Linked DNA regions of Homo sapiens: all the other regions are linked to region 1. Evidence: promoter capture Hi-C in 16 types of primary human blood cells and fetal thymus (Javierre and others, 2016). All regions are on one chromosome and are shown on one strand. Each heading gives the region's core, a stretch centred on a gene start or on the middle of the fragment in contact. The rest is flanking DNA. Distances are from core to core; before and after follow the strand shown. Region 1 holds the start of SDK1 (sidekick cell adhesion molecule 1). Region 2 overlaps SDK1 (sidekick cell adhesion molecule 1). Region 3 overlaps SDK1 (sidekick cell adhesion molecule 1). Region 4 overlaps SDK1 (sidekick cell adhesion molecule 1).

What was found. The method cuts DNA at HindIII sites, captures the fragments that hold promoters and counts their contacts. A CHiCAGO score of 5 or more calls a contact.
Region 2: a fragment that was not itself captured here is called in contact with the fragment with the promoter of SDK1 in region 1 in 3 of 17 cell types (activated CD4 T cells, non-activated CD4 T cells and total CD8 T cells); the score reaches 9.1 in activated CD4 T cells.
Region 3: a contact is called between a fragment that was not itself captured here and the fragment with the promoter of SDK1 in region 1, in 1 of 17 cell types (activated CD4 T cells). The highest score is 6.2, in activated CD4 T cells.
Region 4: a fragment that was not itself captured here is called in contact with the fragment with the promoter of SDK1 in region 1 in 1 of 17 cell types (activated CD4 T cells); the score reaches 5.3 in activated CD4 T cells.

What each region holds. Positions count from the first base shown.
Region 1 is chr7:3,299,696-3,303,102 of GRCh38, reverse strand. It overlaps SDK1 (sidekick cell adhesion molecule 1), which reads right to left and starts at 1,851. Exons shown (of 45, transcript NM_152744.4): 1 at 1,219-1,851. The coding sequence starts at 1,516. SDK1-AS1 (SDK1 antisense RNA 1) reads left to right here. Exons shown (of 3, transcript XR_001744897.3): 1 at 1-874. RefSeq lists enhancers at 1,050-1,550, 2,260-2,771, 2,772-3,284 and a silencer at 1,825-2,374. The HindIII fragment of the contact is 8,975 bases long and covers 1-3,407 here.
Region 2 is chr7:3,640,717-3,644,123 of GRCh38, reverse strand. It overlaps SDK1 (sidekick cell adhesion molecule 1), which reads right to left. Exons shown (of 45, transcript NM_152744.4): 4 at 2,019-2,166. Among named protein-coding and RNA genes, the nearest start is that of SDK1-AS1, 290 kb to the right of the region's middle. The HindIII fragment of the contact is 741 bases long and covers 1,257-1,997 here.
Region 3 is chr7:3,617,597-3,621,003 of GRCh38, reverse strand. It overlaps SDK1 (sidekick cell adhesion molecule 1), which reads right to left. Exons shown (of 45, transcript NM_152744.4): 2 at 1,765-1,924. Among named protein-coding and RNA genes, the nearest start is that of SDK1-AS1, 270 kb to the right of the region's middle. The HindIII fragment of the contact is 1,363 bases long and covers 874-2,236 here.
Region 4 is chr7:3,594,481-3,597,887 of GRCh38, reverse strand. The region is part of intron 1 of SDK1 (sidekick cell adhesion molecule 1); the gene reads right to left. Among named protein-coding and RNA genes, the nearest start is that of SDK1-AS1, 240 kb to the right of the region's middle. The HindIII fragment of the contact is 4,736 bases long and covers 1-3,407 here.

The DNA of each region.
Region 1 (3,407 bases), core at 602-3,101:
AAAACATAAGAGGGAGCATTTATGAAAGCTGGAGGGGGGTGGAGGGGCACAATTTAGATAACGTTACATAAGCATCAATAAAAAAAAGTATGAGTTCGTTGTTAAGCTATTGGATGATAGTTTTGAGCTCAGACCTTTAAAATGTTACAACATTTAAGTCATGTTACTACACATAAATCATCTTCACAGGACACAGAACACAGCTAATTTAAGTTTAATGCTCTCATCTTCGCCAATCTCAGAATATCGAGTTCCTTACCATGATTGTTCGTTAGCTGTATCTTGGAATACAACTAAGTTAATTTTCCTAAAACTACCATCAGCAAAACCAGTTCACTAATGTGTTTTAAAGACGTTACCAAAGGACGTATTAAAATAGTTATTTCTGGGTTGAGGGGGGTGTTTTGGTTTAAAGACCAGCAAACTTCAAAAGAAAACGATGCTAGCTGGCAGGGGTACGTTACGGGTTTTGTCGGGGGCGGGGAGGGGGTGGAGGGAAGCCCAGATTTGGGAAGGAAAGCTCGTTTCACAAGAGATCCCATCTCTCGTTTCAAAAGGTCATTTCCATTCAGCAGATCCTCTTTCCCTATTTCAGAGCTCACCACTGTATTCTAAACAGAAGCCAATAGAGGGAGAAAAACAAAGCCAAGTGCAAAAGCTGTGGGCACTGAAAGTTTTGCTCCACCGGCCGCGCAGCACCCACTTGGGGTCGGGCTTTGGGACTTGGGGGAGTCAGGAGCAGGCGGGGGCTGGGGAGAGGACGAGGCCCTGGGGAGGGGCTGGAAAAGGCTTTTCACAGCGACTGGCACTTGATATTTCCAAGTCTTCTGGATGTCACTCACCGGAAACCAGACCCTGCGGTGCGAAGACTCAGGTACAGACCAGCCCCTTTTTCATCCATGCAATGGGAAGGGGACTCGGGCATCCTTTTAAGGAGCTGAGAAATGGGTCCTCAACTTAAAAATTTTTGTTTGTGCTACTGCGGTATAAAAAAAATAAAACGCAAAGTAGCAGACGGGGTGCAGGCTCTACGGGGCTCCGTTTCCCTCTCCTCCGAGTCTGGCGTGGAGGAGCCCCTGGGCTCCCTAGAGCCCCCAGCAAGGCGCATCCCGACCCGGGCCGGGAAGCGGGGGGACCCCGGACACACTCTCGCTGCTCAAGTTCGCGCCTCCGCGCCCCGAGGCGACGCCCCCGGCCCGCGACCCCGCGCGCACCTACCTTGCGCCAGCGCCCGGAGCAAGTGCAGCTGCAGCGCCAGCAGCGCCCACCAGCCGCGGCGGCCCGGCCCCAACTTTGCCGCCCGCCGCCCGCCGCACCGCCCCGCGCCCGCCGTGTCCCCGCCGGAGGTCTCGGGCGCCGCCCGGGGTCGCGAGGGCTCCGGGCCGGGGCGCGGCGCCAGCGAGGGGCGGGCGCGGCCGGGCGGGGATCCCCGCGGCCGCCCGGGGCCCGCGCGCTCAGGGGGCTCCGCGCCGCCGCCGCCGCCACCGGCCGCCGAGGGCCGGGCGCCCCGGGCCATGCCGAGCAGCCGCCACCCCGAGCGCCGCGCCGGACGGACGGGCGGGCAGGACAGGCGGGACGGCTCCGAGCGGGCGCGGCCACTCCGCGGGAGGCGCGGCGCCCCCCGGCCCGAGGTGAGCGGCCGCCCAGCGCTGAGGGGCGGCGTCCTGGGTCCCCGCGTGAGGGGCGCGGCGCGGGCCGGGGACGAGCCGGGCGAGAAGAAGTTGTCAACGGGGGAAATTCGCGTCCGGCGCTCACGCAGTCCCGAGCCCGCCGCGCTAGCTCCGAGGGGTCCGCCGGGCGCGGAGGAGCCGCCGCCGCCGCCGCCCCCGCCCGGCGCTGAGAAGAAAGTGCGCCCGCCCGCACGTCGCGGTCGCGCTCGCCCTCAGCTGCCGCGGCCGCCGCTCCCCATTCACAGCCCGGCCGCACGCGCCGCCCGCGCCCGCCGCCCGCCGCCCGCCGTTGATTGGCCGAGGGAGGCGGCGCCCGCTCCCAGGGCCCGCCCCCCAGGCCCTCGCTTGTTTTCAAAGTCGCGGCGCCCGCCCGCCTGCAATTTTGTGCCGGCCGCGGCGCCTGGCTCGGGCGGCTTCCCGCGCCGGCTGCGCCCCCTAGGGACCCGTAGTGGGGACTGCAGGCGGCGTCGATTCGGCACGCGCTCCCGTGGCGGGCTCGCGGGCGGGGGTGGTGCATCCTCGCCCGGCCCCGCAGCGGTGCGGGCGCCCGAGTGGGAAGGGCTCAGGTGCAGCAGGACGCGCAGATCGTGCGGCAGCCCAGGGCCGAGGGCGGAATAGGGCGCGCCCCGAGAGGCGCCCGGCTACCACCAGCTAGCTCAGTGCTTGGGGGTGACGCGCCAAGTTACCGTAATTGCAAACACGCGCAATCGGGTTTTTAATTTCTAGCAACCAAAGGCACCACTGGGTGCAAACTCGCCTCCTGTTCAGAGGAGTGGATATGGCATTGTAGAAGCGTCCAAGGTCACTTTTGGCCGGCGCTGGAGGAGGGCGGGGTAGGGAGGGACACATTGCAGGTTTCCCACCGTGGAGTGGGCGAGTCTTGGGGCAGGGTCGGCCAGTGGGAGGGTCTCCCAGGGCGGGACCCGGGAGCCTGTGGGGCTGGGGGTGGGGACGGGCGCCGACGCTCAGCATGTGGTAAGCATTAGCAGAGTTTATGGGGTGAACTAAGCGCACTGGAGGCTGAAAGGCCAGCATTTTTGTGGGAGGAGAGCTGGAGGTGACACGCACTGCCTCTGGAGTTGGCCCGGGAGGAGCCTGGGGACGTGTGATGATGGTCGCATGAGATCATGTAAGAGATGAACGCAGAGGGGCTGGGTGTGAGCCCAGCACGGGGCTGACTCCCCAGGAATCACCTGATGCAGTAGGTTTATTGTCCCAGCCAAGAAAGACCCCGGGCGAGTGGAGAGCAGGTCACAGGGCTGGGGTCTGGGATAGGAGCCAGCTCCTGCTCACAGAGCGCCTATGGTATTTGTCAAATAACTGATTGGTGGCTCAATATTAGCCTCTGTACACGTCCCCTAAGACTTAACAATGACCACGTGAACAAAACAGGGAAACTGAGGTCCAAGTACAGCCGCCGAACAGGAGGTGGTTTCAGAAAGAGGCCTCCCATCTGCCCCCTTTCCACACCATGCTAGGAGGGGCAAAAAAGTTAAAGGAGCCACGGAGTGCCCTGTTCTGAGGATATAGTGAGGGCGCATAGATGGGACGAGCCGGAAGAGGACAGCTCCCCAAGGACATGGGGATGAGACTGGAGGCAGAGAGGCATGTCTGTTTTTATCTTCTGTTGGTAGCAAGGCTGGGTTTCTTCAAACTTGCAAGATTATAATGAGAACCTGCTGGGCGGGGGGAAGCAATACCTCCTGTGCAGTGAGCACTCACTGTAGGCCAGCCCAG
Region 2 (3,407 bases), core at 378-2,877, 340 kb before region 1:
TCGAGACTAGCCTGGACACATGGTAAAACCTCACCTCTGCTAAAAACACAAAAATTAGCCGGGGATGGTGACACACACCTGCAGTCCCAGCTACTCAGGAGGCTGAGGCAGGAGAATCGCTTGAACCTGGGAGGGAAAGGTTGCAGTGAGCTGAGATCACGCCACTGTACCTCAGCCTGGGTGACAGAGGGACTCTGTCTCAAAATAATAATTATTAATTATAAGTATTATATAATTATTAATAGTAATAATAATAATTATTATTATTTAGGTTCCAGCCAGATCCTGGTCCAGAACTAGAAGACTGGAGACATGGGGCTTAGGGAAAGGATTCCACAGATGCTCAGGTGGGGGTGGGAGAGGAGAATCACCAGGTTTAGGGAAGGAATTCCACAGATGCTCAGGTAGGGGTGGGAGATGAGAATCATGAGGTTTAGGGAAGGGATTCCACAGATGCTCAGGTGGGGATGGGAGAAGAGAATCAGGAGGCTTAGGGAAGGGATTCCACAGATGCTCAGGTGGGGGTGGGAGAGGAGAATCACCAGGTTTAGGGAAGGGACTCCACAGATGCTCAGGTGGGGGTGGAGACAAGAATCACGAGGTTTACGGAAGGAATTCCACAGTTGCTCAGGTGGGAGTGGGAGAGGAGAATCACCAGGTTTAGGGGAAGGATTCCACAGATGCTCAGGTGGGGGTAGGAGACGAGAATCAACAGCTTTAGGGAAGGGATTCCACAGATGCTCAGGTGGGGGTGGGAGACGAGAATCACCAGGTTTAGGGAAAGGATTCCACAGATGCTCAGGTAGGGGTGGGAGATGAGAATCACGAGGTTTAGGGAAAGGATTCCACAGATGTTCAGGTAGATGAGAATCATGAGGTTTAGGGAAGGGATTCCACAGATGCTCAGGTAGGGGTGGGAGACAAGAATCATGAGCCTTCAGGAAGGGATTCCACAGATGCTCAGGTAGGGGTGGAGAGGAGAATCATGAGATTTAGCGAAAGGATTCCACAGATGCTCAGGTAGGGTTGGAGATGAGAATCACAAGGCTTCGGGAAGGGATTCCACAGATGCTCAGGTAGGGGAGAGAGCAGGTGGGTTCCCACAGTGACTTTCACAGTTAGATGTAAAATCTATTTGGCAAATGACCTCACACATATTCTTTTTGAAAAAGCACAACAATAGTATTTGCTCCTGATGAATTTTTATCTGAGTGCAACCACTGGATGGCATAAATATCTGACTTCTGGCCTAAGCTTATAGCATTTCATGATTCTTCTGGAAATGTTCAGCCTTGAAACCTTTATGTTTGGAATATTGTCTTTAAATTAGGTTGTAAAATGTCCAGTTATGAAATATATACCAAGTGTTCTTTTTAATCACTTAAAGCTCCAAGTGAAGAAAACCTGTCGGGCATTAGATAAATATCTTGAATGTGAGATAAGCATTATTTCAAGATGTTCTTGCCTAACTAATCACAAAGCAACTATTCTGCAATAGATGGGTGAACCACTAATTAGATGAAGAGAAATAAAACTGTCATGGTAGGATAAAAGGATAAAGAGAAATAAGCAGTAATTACTGTTTTATCGTCAGAGAAAGCAGTATCAAACATGGCTCAATAAAAGGAGGGGGAAAAAAAACCCCACAGCACTGTAAGTAAATACCAGCACTCATTAAATTAGTACTAGGAGGCAAACCCAACTCAGGGATGACAATGACATCTTAAAAAGTACACTCAGAAAAGAAAAAAATGGACTGCAAAGTTGGGTAAGGCTGCTTTAGTTTTAGGGCATGCAACATTCTGAAGAATAATATTAGACAGTTATTTGCTTAAACTGGTTAAAAATATTCAAGCCAGTCCTCAAATAGCTGTTTATTAAAAATTAGGATAGGACTCCTAGACTAGTTTGCTCTTTTTAAATCATCGGTAACCTTAATTGGTACACTTACTGTGTAGATGGTGCCAGCAAGTGACATTACAATTGTATTTGAAGCTTTAACGTTTGGAGCAACTTACATTCTGTTGCTTGGAATAATCTTGTGCCCTTCTCTAAACCAAGTCACTTGAGGTCTGGGGTAGCTGGTGATGGGCAGCAGGTTTAGAATCGCTGCACGTCCTTGAGAAACTGTTTTCCTCTGGTCCGTATCCATGAAACTTCCCATATCTGCAGAGAAAAAGAAGTGCTTTCAAGTTCTAGAAAACATTTTTGGGGGAGGGAAGGGGTCACAGATGGAAACAGGTAAGTGTTACAGTAAAGTCACTGATGCTGCCACATTTCACACCAGGACGAGCGAGACTGCACGGCAGCGCTGACCAACGCGGATCTGCTTGCGAGTGAAGCACCGGGCAAGCCACGCGCCTCCAAAGCGCCCACGCTGCACATTCCTCAGCAAAGCCACATGGTCTTTGTCCTACCTGACAATACAAGGAAATGTCTGCAACTGTCTGTGACACTGAAATGAAATGCTGAAGCCATCCTAGAGCCACGTGAAGCAGTTTTCTCAGAAACTGTCAGAAAATGTGTCCAGACATCTCCTAGCTCCTAAATCTTTCAAACTCGTTCCAGCCCGGCACCGGCCCTTGCTCTCTTCAGCTTGTTTCCTTCATTTGTGAGGTCACTGTCTCCTGCACAGATCTTTTGGGAGCAATATTTCCTAACCACTGAAGAGTCTATATACTATTCTCCCACTCTCATACTGTTGACTTAATCTGGGGCAACTAGCTTTTGTTCCAGTATTTGTTCTACTGATAAAAAAAATTTAAAAAATGGGGTCATAGGACAAAACATAGCTATTAGAATGTAGGTATAAAAGGCTAATTTTAAAATTTGTAACATTTGAAAATTTTGAATAAGATTCCATATTATGGTCAGATGTAAATATATATACAAACAGATATGGCAAAATAGTGTATTTTTATTTAAACATAAATAAGTTTGAAATAGTCCACAGAAGTGCTCTATTATCAATGTCTTCTTCAGTCAAAAGACATTTTCTATGTGACAGTGTCTAATACTTGAGGGAAAAGATGAAACAAACCAACAAAACAGATTAGAAAAATACTCATAGTTTTTTCAAAAGAAAATGAAATTTGTTATCAAAGCAAAGGAGAAAAGAAAGATTAAAAAAAAAAAATCTAAACGCAGAGCACAGTGGCTCACACCTGTCATCCCAGCACTTTGGGAGGCCGAGGCGGGTGGATCACGAGGTCAGGAATTTGACACCAGCCTGGCCAACATGGTGAAGCCCGATCTCTACCAAAAATACAAAAATTAGCTGGGTGTGGTGGTGGGTGCCTGTAATCCCAGCTGCTCAGGAGGCTGAAGCAGGAGAATCACTTGAACCTAGGAGGCGGAGGTTGCGGTGAGTCAAGATTGTGCCACTGCACTCCAGCCTGGGTGACAGA
Region 3 (3,407 bases), core at 306-2,805, 320 kb before region 1:
CATTGCTCAGGTGTGGTGGAGCTGAATTCTGCCAGTCCTAGGATTCAGGACTGTTTGATTTCAACATGCTATGATCTACTATGATAAACTTTTCCTCGAGTGTAGATCCTCCAACAGGGTAGGCCCAATAATGTAAGCAGTCACACACTCACTTGTCTAAAGTGTGGGTGGGTAATGGGAATGGGGAGAGCAAGTGAGGTGCTACAAGGGACGGGGCTGCCAGAGAGCACCGAGGAGAACCAGGGAGTGTCCATGCCTTTGATGGGGGCAGCTCTGCTCAGCCGCCTGCTCCTGATTGGGGCTGCAGACCAGGCAGCCAGGCCTTCTGACTGGTCTGCAGAGGCTGGGAAGCAAGGTTTTTACAGAAAATCTTAGAACTGTCAAATGTTGGCAGCTAATAAAAAAATATGCTGTGGCTCACACCTGTAATCCCAGCAATCTGGCAGGCCAAGGCAGGCAGATCACCTGAGGTCAGGAGTTTGAGACAAGCCTGGTCAACATGGTGAAACCCCATCTCTACTAAAAATACAAAAATTAGCCAGGTGTGGTGGCTCACGCCTGTAGAACCAGCTACTTGGGAGGCTGAGGCAGGAGAATCATTTGAACCCAGAAGGTGGAGGTTGCAGTGAGCCAAGATCGCGCCACTGCACTCCAGCCTGGGCAACAAGAGTGAAACTCCGTCTCAAATTAAAAAAAAAAAAAATGCTGTAAGCATTCTCATATTTTTTTTAATTGATTTTTAAAATACAAACACACAGACAACTGACACACACATAAATTCTGGGCAGGCTGAGTGTGGTTCCACGGACCACCGTATCACAACCTCAGAGGTAAAGAGAGTGAGTGGGTGGGCTATTCCCCATTTGAGAAGCTTGTTATTCCACTTAAAATGCCTCTATACAGCCCACTCTTTCTTATTTCATCTAAAGAAAAGCATGGCAGCGATGATTTTGCTGATTTGCTGATGGTGAGGCCTCCTGGACTTTTCTGGCATGCTAGTTCTCCATCCTGCACAGAACTGCAGCATGTAATATTATCATCCTCAAAAGTATACCCCTGGAAAGCTCTGAAGCGTGGTAAGACCCTGAGGCTCCAAAGGCTGTGCTACTGCCTCCAGGTGAATCTACACCTCAGTCTTACCCTGATCTTGTGCTCTGCCACAGGTTCAGGCCCTCTGTCCCCACATCATGTCCACCCCAGTGCATCAGATCCCTGGTGACTGGCACAGTGCTGGGCACATGGCAGGACTTCAATATATACTGTTTTATTGCTGCTGAATATACAGGCTGTATGCATGCCCATTCTCCATGATTCCATCCATCCCTATCTCCACTTGAAAACAGCTAGGAAAGACTTTTGCTGACTACTCAGAGCTCCAGAAGCTACCATACTAAAGATCTGTTTAAACATTTGTGCCTAGACAGGAGCAATACTTGTGGGTAGGGCTGTTGCCCTTGGAAAGTAAATGTATCATACCAAAGCTGTTATTGGCATTGCTCTGTAACCATAGGTTTTTGTTGACTGATAATTTCACTAATGGGCTTACTTTTACAAATATAATGATAGACTTCCTAGGTGTAAGTACAACCTATATCAGAATAGTAAATCACATTCTAATTACATATTCAAATCTATTCCTTTAATCTTGAATGCATTAGAAATTCAATCCAATATTTTCACTCATTGTGCTATTATGACCAGTAAGGCAAGTATTCCAAACACATCAACTGAAATGGGATCTTATTTTTTCAAGCGATCAATTACTTATATTCGCTGCTGTAGGTGGTGAGCTCACTGTCATCGCGCATCCACTTGAACTCCAAAGGCCAGCTCCCTTCGGCAAGGCAGGTGAGAACAAGGCGGTTCCCTTCCAGGTGGATCTGTGGTAGGCCTGGCTCCGTTTTAAAATATGGAGCAACATCATCTGAAATATTAAAAAACAAAACAAAACAAAACTGAAGTACGCATGAAAGTGGCACTCATCTAATTTAATAAATCTATTATTTAAACAAACGTAATATTAAAATGAAAGTGATGGCTGTTTGGCCCAATTAAGAAGTAAATAATCCTTTACCAAACCCTGGAAACATGCAATACCCCAGATAATATTTCAAAAAGCTGAAAGCTCAATGATACCCGCATTTGAAAGCATCTGACAGGTTCATCCAAGTTATTTCCACTTATGGTTAATAGCTTATTGAAGGGACATATCGGACAATCCCTGTACATACAAGCTTTTGGTTTTAACTAGGCAATCTATTTGCGAGAAAACAGTCAAGTGTATGCAGGCTATAAAAGAGAAGTTTCCTCTATAACCTTCAATTGGTTTTAAAAAAGTAAGATAAGCAAGATTGACATACATACATAAACGACATGAATCGCAACCTAGCTTTCCTTTCATACACACGTGGAAATGGTCTCTCCTGGTGACTTTCAATGGGATACAACACAGGAAACTCATGGTATATTCACATAATGGAACAGCGCACTGCAGCGAGAATGCAGCAACAATTGCTACACATAGCAACACAGGTAAATCCCACACACATCAAGCCGAGTGAAAGAAGCCAGACAGAATTTTCAAAAAAGCTTATAGCATGTGCTACTATTCAAAAGTTCATAAAAGTTCACAGCCAGATAAAACTAATCTATGGTGTCAGAGGTTAAGGATAAGGGTTACCTCTGAGGGATGGGATAGCGACGGGGGTGAAGGTAATGGGATGGCTTATGAAAAGCAGGTCAAAATTTATTTCCTGATGTGGTTACAAAGGTACATTTACTTTGTGAAAATGGAGAGAATACTAGATATGATTTGTCAATGTTTTGTAGATCTGTTTCAATAACATTTTTTAATATGGATGCAGCACACTTGGCTTCTAGCTGTAGCATCACTAATTAGCTACCTGATCCTCATCAGGACTTACAGGTTTTTGTTTCTTTATCAGCAAAATAAACAGGATTATATGACTCGTCATTTTTCTACAAAAGTCCCCAAGATCCACCTGCATAATCAGCTTTCTAACTTTCATTCAGGCCTCCTCCCCTCTCTGCTCACACCGAGCACTCCAGGCACACTTCACTTCTTGCACATTTAAACCCAAGCCAAGCTCTTTCCTAGAGTTACGGTCTGAATGTCCCCTCCAAAACTCATGATGAAATGTGATGGCCATTCTAACAGTAATAAGAGGCAGGACCTTGAGGATATGATTAGGTCATGCAGGCTCTACCTTCAGGAATGGATTAATGCTGATACTGTGGGAGGGAGTTAGTTATCAAGGGAGAGGGGTCCTAATAAAAAGGGTAAGTTGGGCCCCCATCCTCTGTCTCATGCACTCCCTTGACCTTCTGACTTCCATGACAGGATGATATAGCACAAAGGGCCTCCCCAGATGAACTGCCATGTTGTT
Region 4 (3,407 bases), core at 621-3,120, 290 kb before region 1:
CTGTTATTTATAGTGCCCTACATGGAAAACGACAGAGACGTACATCAATAAAAAGAAACAAACTGGTAAACTCAGCACCATCGAGGAATCTCACAGACATTTTGATGGGTGAAAAAAGTCAAAAACAAAACTGTCTGTACTGTATTGTCCAACAAAATTATGGGAGGCCATTGCACTGCACTGAGCCCCTCTCCCCTAGGCCCCGACAGACCAGACCAAACCAAAATGAAGTCACTGAGCTAAATGCGACCTAATCAAACTAAGACTGTAAGGAAACAGATCAATCTCAAAACAGAGCAGGTTATTTTCCTCCTAAAATGGGACACTCCAGCATAATAAGGAAGTTCTCTCTAACACTTTCGAAAAAGCAACCTGAAGTAACCAACAGGTGGCCTCCCCGCCGCCGGTGTTCTGTGTCCTGTTTCTATCTTACAAAACCCACTGTTCTGCTATTTCCCAGTGGGATTTGAGGTTTCAGTCTCTTTATGACACTGAAAGAGTGATGTGAAAATGGAGAAGTTGACCAAAAGGGGAGAAGTTTTCTCAGTACAAAGTGAACTGTAACTAGATAACATAAACAGACTGTAACATCCTCTTTTTTTTTTTTTTTTTTTTTGAGACCAAGTCTTACTCTGTCGACCAGGCTGGAGTGCAGTGGCGCGATCTGGGCTCACTGCAAGCTCCGCCTCCCGGGTTCACGCCATTCTCCTGCCTCGGCCTCCTGAGTAGCTGGGACTACAGGCACCCGCCACCACATCCGGCTAATTTTTTGTGTATTTTTAGTAGAGACAGGGTTTCACCGTGTTAGCCAGGATGGTTTCGATCTCCTGACCTCATGATCCGCCTGCCTCGGCCTCCCAAAGTGCTGGGGTTACAGGTGTGAGTCACCTCGCTCAGCCTGTAACCTACTCTTATACCAGTTTTGGCCAATCACAGGCGGCCAGTGTTCAAACTGTGTTCAAGTAAGGCAGACGCTAAGCTGTAACCAATCTAGCTGTTTCTGTACCTGTACCTCACTTCTATCTTTTATGGTGCTTTCCTTTTTCTGTTCATAAGTGTTATCTGATGATGTGGCAGCATGAGTTACTCTGAACTTAGGCTAGCCTGGGGGCTTCTGATTCCAGAATTAGTCTTCGCTCAATTAAACTCTGCTAAATTTCCTTTGTCTGAAGTTCTTCTTTTAACATTTTGATTTCCTTCATATGAAATTCAAGCACAGGTAATATTTATCTATTTGAAAAGAAATCAGAAAAACGACTGCCTACAGGGATGGAGATTAATTGGAAGGGCCTGAGGGAACTTGCAGGGGTGATGGAGACGTTCATCTGGAGTGAGGAGGTGGTCACAAAGTCCATGCGTTTGTCAAAACTTACCGGCTTATGCACTTAACATCTATGAAATTCTTTTCATGCTTTCTGTACATTTTACCTCAATTAAAAATCCTTAGAGCAGACATCTACCCATTGTTACAGAAATGGAGACACACTTTCCTCAGTCACTGCCTCGAGCAACTTTACCACAATGACTGTGGTTTGTTCTGATGGTCACTGGCACTGTCAGACTTACTCTCTTGTACCAATTATTGTGCTAAGGAGACTGCCTATTACTGAAATTTCATTTCTCCTATTACTGTTTAACTCTCATGCAACCCAGCCAGATGGAAGAGCCAGCAAGATGACAGCTTCTGTTACTACCCCTGGAACGACAGACTGAAACGCTCCAAAATGCGGAACTTTTTGAGCACCAACAAAGGAAATGCTCACTGGAGCATTTCAGATTTGGAATTTTTAGATAAAGGATAATTAATCTGTGCTACCTAACAATTATTGAGCATCTACTTCATACCAAGGAGGAAATATTTTAATAAATACTATCTGAAATGTTCTCACAACGACCGCATCAGGTAGATGGTATGACTTAAAAAAAAAAAAAAAATACCCATTAGACAGGTTAAAACACCGAGCCAGAGTGGTTAGTGTTGACTAGTAACTAGACAACATAAACAGACTGTAACCTCCTTTTTTGTTGTTGTTTTTTTTTTTTTTTTTTTTTTTTTTTTGAGATGAAGTCTTAACTCTGTCGACCAGGCTGGAGTGCAGTGGCACTATCTGGGCTCACTGCAAGCTCCGCCTCCCGGGTTCATGCCATTCTCTAACAATTAGACTCGTTCAAAGTCTAACTTTGAACTGGTAACTTTGACTAGTTCAAAGTCACGCAGGAAGTGGCAGAGTCAAGGTCAAACCCCTGTGGTACAAATACTTCCATGATCATGTCACTCTGCCTCACTGCCCCTAAGATTCAGAATGTAAACTAAAAATGAATAGAATTATAACTGCATAATTAAATATTATCAGTAGTGCTGGTGAGTTTTATTAAATATATCGGAGGCAACAGTTTATGTTTCTGTTTCAAAAATGAGAAAATATACATACAAATATGCCTCTTACCCAAGACCAAGCAAAGTCCAGATAACTGTTATTAGAAAAGCAATCAAAGATAATCCATGCAGTAGCTATTAATATATATTTCATGCAGGGGACATTTAATAAATAGGGTAGAAGTATATAAATGAATTTATATATAATTTTTTACAAGCAAAATATCATAAAGTTACGAATAGGGTAGAAGTATATAAATGAATATATATATAATTACAAGCAAAATATCATAAAGTCACCAATATGGCAGAAAAAAACAGTGTTAATTAGCTAGCTGAAAAAGCTCACATTATTCAGGCAAGATTCAAAAAAAAAGTAATCGGGAGAAAATTGGCTGCATCTGACTTCAATCTTCTACGCGTTGCTGAAATCAAATTGGAACTCACTGTGGTGGCAACAAGGGTATTTTCCATCTTTCCAATCACCCATTTTTGTTAAATTAAAACATAAAAGCAACTAGAGATTAAACCAAACAAAATGAGTGCTCTACACATAAACCTACTAGAAAAACAGTAAACCCTATACATTAATGATGATTTAGCTTTACCTAGAAATAACATTTTCTTTTAATGAGATGCAGGTATGATTCTTTAAGTATGCTTGATTTTAAAACTATCCTCACTCTTGCCCCTCTAATGAAAGCAGGGACTGATGGTTCTTATATCAGTATTATCTCTAAAACAGTAAGCAATTTTTCTTACAATCAATAGTATATTTAGACTAATAAGCACAGGAAAAATGTTCAATGTCATTAGTCACTGGGAAAATTAAAATCAAAGTCACAATTAATGAGGTAACCCACCCAAACCACCCAGTAAAGTGACTAGAATCAAAAAGACAAACAATTACAAGTGTTGGCAAGGATGTGGAGAAATCAGAACCCTCATACATGACCGGCGGCAATGTAAAATGGAAATGGTTTGGCGGTCTCTCAAAATGTTAGGTATCAAGTTACCATACGACCCAGTA